2 separate regions of the Homo sapiens genome follow, and region 2 is linked to region 1. The links are contacts of gene promoters, found by promoter capture Hi-C in human tissues and cell types (Jung and others, 2019). All regions are on one chromosome and are shown on one strand. The core of a region is centred on a gene start or on the middle of the fragment in contact, and the rest is flanking DNA. Distances in the headings are between cores, read along the strand shown.

What was found. The method cuts DNA at HindIII sites, captures the fragments that hold promoters and counts their contacts. A contact is called where the count stands out against the background at its distance.
Region 2: a contact is called between a fragment that was not itself captured here and the fragment with the promoter of C1orf105 in region 1, in 1 of the 25 tissues and cell types used here (mesenchymal stem cells).

The regions. Positions count from the first base shown.
Region 1 is chr1:172,418,889-172,422,387 of GRCh38, forward strand. It overlaps C1orf105 (chromosome 1 open reading frame 105), which reads left to right and starts at 1,797. Exons shown (of 7, transcript NM_139240.4): 1 at 1,797-2,018. The coding sequence starts at 1,998. The region is part of intron 1 of LOC102724528 (a long non-coding RNA gene); the gene reads right to left. The HindIII fragment of the contact is 11,853 bases long and covers 1-3,499 here.
Region 2 is chr1:171,734,749-171,738,040 of GRCh38, forward strand. All of the region lies in intron 2 of VAMP4 (vesicle associated membrane protein 4), which reads right to left. Among named protein-coding and RNA genes, the nearest start is that of VAMP4, 5.7 kb to the right of the region's middle. The HindIII fragment of the contact is 4,216 bases long and covers 1-3,292 here.

The sequences.
Region 1 (3,499 bases), core at 547-3,046:
GGGCGAAAAACCACATCATTCAGAATAAAAGTACAAGGCAAGGAAATGTTGCCACCTTGAGAAGAAAGACTCTTCATGATGTCAGTAAAGCACTAGAAAAATGGAGTCCATATAAGTTTGAAGGAATAGAGAACTTTTTATTCCTCTATCCTCAAATGGTAATTCTAACACTAAAATTTTAATCTATAATTTTTTAACAAGCATCCCAAAGATGTATCCAAATAAAATGTTTATTATTTAGGTAATATAGTACATTCCACCAAATATGTGATCTGAAGCCTTCCCAAAGGTTTAAGATTTAATTCAGAATTTTATTTTTTGAAAATTTATGTGGCCTAAAATAGAACTTGAAAGTAGTCCTTCTCAAATGAGATCACTTCTGAATGTGCTCCCCTTCAGCATATTAAGATGACAGAAAACTACATGACAAGAGAGTCAAAAAAATCATTCATCAGTTCTATTTACTTCACATCTGACCTAGGCAAGCCCTGGCAAAGGAGGTATTTGGAAGATGTGGGCAGGAACCCCCAGTTGTAAAAGGGAGAGTCCTCATTAGTAATGCTGTTTCTTCGGACCACAAATTTTTTTAAGGACTGAGTTCTCCACTCAAAAATGAAAAATCAGTTTCTTGGTTTAAAATGTTCATATGGCATGTTACATTATTTTAATTGTATCCCCGGTCCAGTGACTACCATTTAAAATCAGTGATAACTAAGAAAGTTCAAAGGCTCCAAACCAAGGCATCAACTGAAGCTCATGTATAGCAGGAAGGAGGTGACTTGATGTAAAATAGCACATAGCATGCAGTCTTTTGTCCTTTCCTTCCCCTCCAGTCCAGGCATTTGATTTTTAAATCAATATTCTTAGTGGATAGCATTCTTCATCCCAATAGACAAAAATGTACCTAGATGATTTCATACCACCTCCCCAAATGAAAACCGAAGTTGTCAAAGAGAAGGTTTTCTTCAATTCATTTTTTAAAAGTGTTTGGTACTTTTCCACTTTGTCTTAAACATGGACTTATTTTTATATGCAGTGTTACACAGTTTAGATGTATAAAACTTAAATTGACCTGATGAATGATGAGAAGGAAAAACTCCAGTCATAACAGAATGAAATGACAACCTTACTCAGTTTTCCTTAACAAAGAAGTGTGTTCCCTTCCTTACATTCTATAGGCAAGAAAAAAGAGGGCAGGGGAAAGGGATGGGGGGCAGCCTGGAGTAAAATTAAATTATGCTAAGATTTGTTAATATGTATTTAGTAAATAGTATTTCTATGTTTCATAATATACCTTTCCCCAACTCTTCTTACCTCCACCTCCACCCTGCTATGTTTAATAGACTTGAAAAATTACTCCCTTTTTCAGAGTTGATCATAACTCAGGATAGTCAGGAAGAGCCAAACTATTATGCCTTTAGTAAACATAATATTCCTTATATATTTTCATTCCTTTATTTATGCATCAAACATTTCTTGAATTCATGATAATGTCCTGGACCCTGGGAATACCAGAGAAGTAACAGAATAAAAGTAGCTTACAAAATAGCTAAATAAGCAATTACAATGTAGTGCTACAATAAGAGAAAAGTTTGGTTGTCTTTCCAGGGAGAACTGTTCTGACTTCAGTACTGAAGCAGCTATCTGAGTTTTAGTATACTGTTATCAACTTTACCCAACACATGCTAATGTTCCAGAACATTGTGATTTTGACTTCTAACAAAGAAAGGAATACTAGAACTCATTTCAGCCAATCAGAAACTGAGCTTTTCATTCTGAATGGAATTATATGATTCAAGATGTAAATCACACAGATGTTGGTAGAGAAAAAGGCATACTGGTATTGAAACTGTAAACTGGCCTGTTTACTTCGTCTCCTAACAAAAAACACTTTGGATTCAGGTTCTCCACAGCAGTCTTCCACTGGCCACAGTGAGGGGAGCTAGGTTTCCCCAGTCTCCAGCTAGAAAAACTCAGAACATCTAAAGATCTGAAAGATGGAAAAAAGAGAACTAAAGGTAGGAAAAAAATAAATGAAACTTCCAATTCTTTCCTTATGGGGTTACCCTGGTAAATGTTTGTATGCCTTGGAGGCCACATAAACATTGAGGGGTGTTTCAACAGACATCCTAGAAGTTGAAAGCCAAAAGAAGGTAAGGAAATAACAGCTGATGTTCAGTTACAGGTGAAGATAATTTTAATGGGTTTGGGGCATGATAAATTTCAATGCTCTTTATCGTATAGTTTGGAAAAAATGTTGTACTTGCCAACATCTTTTATAACTCAGCATTTAAGTATGATTTTTTTAAATCCTCAGAAAATTGATACCAGATTCTTTAGTGCAGTTCCCTGAGATTCTGAAGTAAACCTTCTCAACTGTGAATGCACTTTAAAACAATGAATCTCAGTCACAGGAAGTTAAGATTGCTGAGAAAGAAAAAAAAACTTGTATAGACTTTTATAATTACTAGGGTCTAAATCTGAATAAATCACATTGAGCTTATGACACTGTATGTTTCCTATTTAAAGGGATATACTAGCTGTCTCTATTACCATAGTACAGGTGCTCCTTGACTTATGATAGGGTTACATCTCAATAAACCACCACAAGTTGAAAATATTGTAAGTCAAAAATGCATGCAATACCCTGATGAACCCATGATAAAGTAAAAAAATCCTAAGTTGGGGAGGACGCAGAGCAAGATGGCCAAACAGAAGCCTTCACTGATTGTTCTCCATGCACGAACATCAAATTTAACAACTATCTACACAAAAAAGCACCTTCATAAGAACCAAAAATCAGTGATCACAAAGTGATCACAGTACCTGGTTTTAACTTCGTATTGTTGAAAGAAGCACTGAGGAAGATAAGAAAGACAATCTTGAATTGCTGACACCACCCCTCCCCCATCCCCTGGCAGCAGCCACATAGTGTGGAGAGAGAATCTGTGCACTTGGAGGGAGGGCACAGCGATTGTGGGACTCTAGAATTCAGTGCTGCCAATACGGGGCAGAACTTAGCTGTTGCCAATGGAGGGACCATTTAGACCACCCTTAGCCAGAGGAGAATTGCCCATCCCAGGTTTCAGAAACTGAGTTTTGACTACCTCCACCACCATGGGCTAAAGTGCTCTGAGGTCCTAAATAAACTTGAAAGCCTGTCTGGGCCACAACAACTGCAATACCCAGGCAAGTCCTAGTGCTGTGCTGGGCTCTGAGCCAGTGGACTGGGGAGCGCACGATCTAGTAAGACACCAGCCAGGATGGCTAAGTAAGTGCTTACAGCACCCCTCCCCCAACCCCAGGCAACACAGCTTATGGCTCCAAAAGGGACTCCTTCCTTTGCTTGAGGAGAGAAGAGGGAAGAGTGAAAAGGACTTTGTCTTGCAACTTGGATACCAGTTCAGCCAGAGTAGGATAGGGTACTGGGCAAAATCCTGAGGCACTCATTGCAGGCCCTAGCTCTTGGATGACATTTCTAGATATACCCTGGGCCAAA
Region 2 (3,292 bases), core at 34-2,533, 680 kb before region 1:
TCTCTTGAAACAGTCAATTTTATTCAGTTCTGGTGTCTAATATACTAATAATCAATGAAGAATATAAGGAGAAAGTGATACAATTACAGTCTCAGCAGTGGAATTTATTGAGACAATACATTTTAAATTTAAAAATGTATTCATAAAGCTTATTTATTTGTATTATTTTTAATTTAAGGTTTACTATTGTTTTTCTTGAAGTAATTTTTCCTGCCCTTGTTATTAGGGTGGGCTTTATGTACTATTTAATCTGATTTCCACACATATTATTAAACTGGTATTTAATATCTACAAATAATAATTTTGTCACTATTTTCTCAGGATTATGACCAACATGCCATGAAACTGTGATCCTAGTATATCACGCCTGGACTTGATTTTTAAAAAGCAATCATATTCAAGTGACTGTGTCCTTAACAGTGATTCCATTAAGTGAACAACAAATTTACGTTCAGCAGTGATTGTGAGAAAGAAACACAGGGGAACTTAGGAAATATAAATAGTTTCAGTTTAAAATCATGTAAAAATAAAACTATAAAATTAATGGGATTTGCATCAATTAAAAATTATTAAATAATATACTCTTGCATACTATACATTGAATTTGGCTACAACCTTCTCTGCTTTACATACATTTTTCAAAATTGACATAGATTGTATGAATTACAAACAAGTTCCGAGAGGTGATTTTACTACATACATTTCCATACTTCAGTCTTCATCTTACACAAAGGCAGATGTGACTTAGGGGCTCTCTGTCCAGGACTGAGGTATTTACCTGACATATCTCAGATATCAGTCAATCAACTGTCAGCATTTATTGATCATCTTCCAGGATATTAATGCTTTGCAAGCATCTCTGGGTAAGTGACTAAAGATTTCCTTGGGGCAATAGGAAAGAGGCTCAGATTCTTCTAACCGATGATTTAAAAAATATTTCAGCATGCTTTGTGCACGCTGATCACTGAATATTCATCAGGAGCTTTCAGTCAGCTTTTACTGGATGCATATCAAGTCTGTGTTGTTTTACACTGGGTTCCTTTATAGGTTCACAATTGGTATCATTTACTTTAACAAATTGACATTTATTCTCTGAATGGGTTTAGTATTTCGCCAAACCTTCTGCTTTGTAAAGACATGCTTTTTTTTTCTTTCTGAGATGGAATTTCACTCTGTCACCCAAGCTGGAGTGCAATGGCACAATCTCGGCTCACTGCAACCTCTGCCTCCCAGATTCAAGCAATTCTCCTGCCTCAGCCTCCCAGGTAGCTGGGATTACAGGTGTGCACCACCGCACCTGGCTAATTTTTGTACTTCTGCTAGAGATGGGGTTTCACTATGTTGGCCAGACTGGTCTTGAATTCCTGACCTCAAGTGATCTGCCCGCCTCGGCCTCCCAAAGTGCTGGGATTACAGGCGCGAGCCACCACGCCTGGCCAAGACATGCTTTTGATAGTAAATCTTCAGTGTATGGAATTCCAGCACAGGTATATCAAATTTTCTGAATCACTTTTTCTTGGAGGTTTATCTTGAAAGATATTACATTAAAGAAAGAGACCCTGGATTATCCCTGAGTGATTTCTCAATCCCTGATCATCCTCTGCCTTCTCTCGGCCAGAGCCTTCCGGGTTCACCCAGACTTGGTATATTTCAAGGCATTTCTCAATTCCTTGCATGGGGAACTAGCTCAAGCAGACACTAAGAGTTTCACCATGGCATGGAGGAAAAGATAGGTGACCAAAATGGTTGAAACTGCACCAAATGCTAGTAAGCAGTTGAAATTATGGCAAAGAAGGAGTAACTGGATTTGGCAACATGGAAATCATTGGTGACTCCTTAAAGTTTATTAGTAAAAGCTTGCTAGCAATTAATCTATTGGTGGATTCTATTTCCCCATTAAAAAACAAAACAAAACAAAACAAAACAAAACAAAACAAAACAAAACAGGCCGAGTGCAGTGTCAAATGTCTGTAATCCCAGCACTTTGGGAGGCCAAGGCAGGTGGATTACTTGAGCTCAGGAATTTGAGACCAGCCTGGGCAACACGGCAAAACCCCATCTTTACGAGAAAAACAAAAACTAGCTGGGCATGATATCATGCACCTGTAGTCTTTGCTACTCAGGAGGCTGGGGTGGGAGGATAGCTTGGGCCCAAAAGGTGGAGGCTGCAGTGAGCTGTGATTGCACCACTGCACTTCAGCCTCAATGACAGAGCGAGACCCTGGTCTCAAAAAATAAAAACAAACCATCAGAAACACACAAAACCGCAAAAGCTGTACAAAGGGTTAGAATAAGGGGAAGAAAATGTTTCCTGTGTTGTACTAAAAGAAACTTATGACTAAAAGTCATAAGATGGTGGACAGAGTGGATAATATGAAGTTCTGAGGTTGTCCAAAAAGAGCATGTAAAACAAAGCAGACTAAAAGCTTTGCAAGGGCACAGACTATGTCTTCCAATTTTTAGCCCAGTGCCTAGCACATAGGAGGTGGTCAATACATATTTGTTGAATGAATCAAGACAAGAAGGAAAGGAAGGAGGGCTTCAGAATGGTGCATTAAAAAAATAAGAACGTGAATTATTTCCCCCAATAAATATGTATTGAGTACTTATTCTAAAAGTAATCTGCCTACAACATTCATATAAAATGTTGTCTTTTAAATGCGGCATAATTTCTAGATTTATATATATTTGCATAGAATGTTCTGGAATAAACTAGAAATTGAAGCATTATATAAAAGATACTCTGGAACATAAGATAATTACAGGTCTGGGGACCTTTATTTGCAATTCCAAAATCTAAAAGCTTCTGAAAATCAAAAAGTTTTGGAGGAAAATTTGACCTGAACTGATGTTAGCTAGTTTATTTACACACTTTATTTACATAGTTAGTTAGATATAACTAAATATAGACTTCACTGAGAAATATTAATATTTTTGGAGGCACTGGTCCAGGCCCCAAAAATGCTGTTACATAATATGTTCTTAACTTTCTAAAATCTGAAAAATTCCAAATACATTCAAAGTTCTGAATAAGATATTGTGTATTTGTATAAAACTCCCTTTCAAAAACTAGAAAGAAGCTATGAGAATAATGATTTGATCAATAATGGAAGTAGAATTCAGTTGTCACCAATCTAAGTAACATGTTTTTAAATACATTTGCTATGAAGAAAACAATTAGGATTAGAATATAGTCATAAGCTTTTGATTTTTCTGTTGTTATTATTATTAGTTAATTAATTTTTGAGACAGGGTCTTGCTCTGTTGCTCAGGCTGGAGTGCAGATCACAGT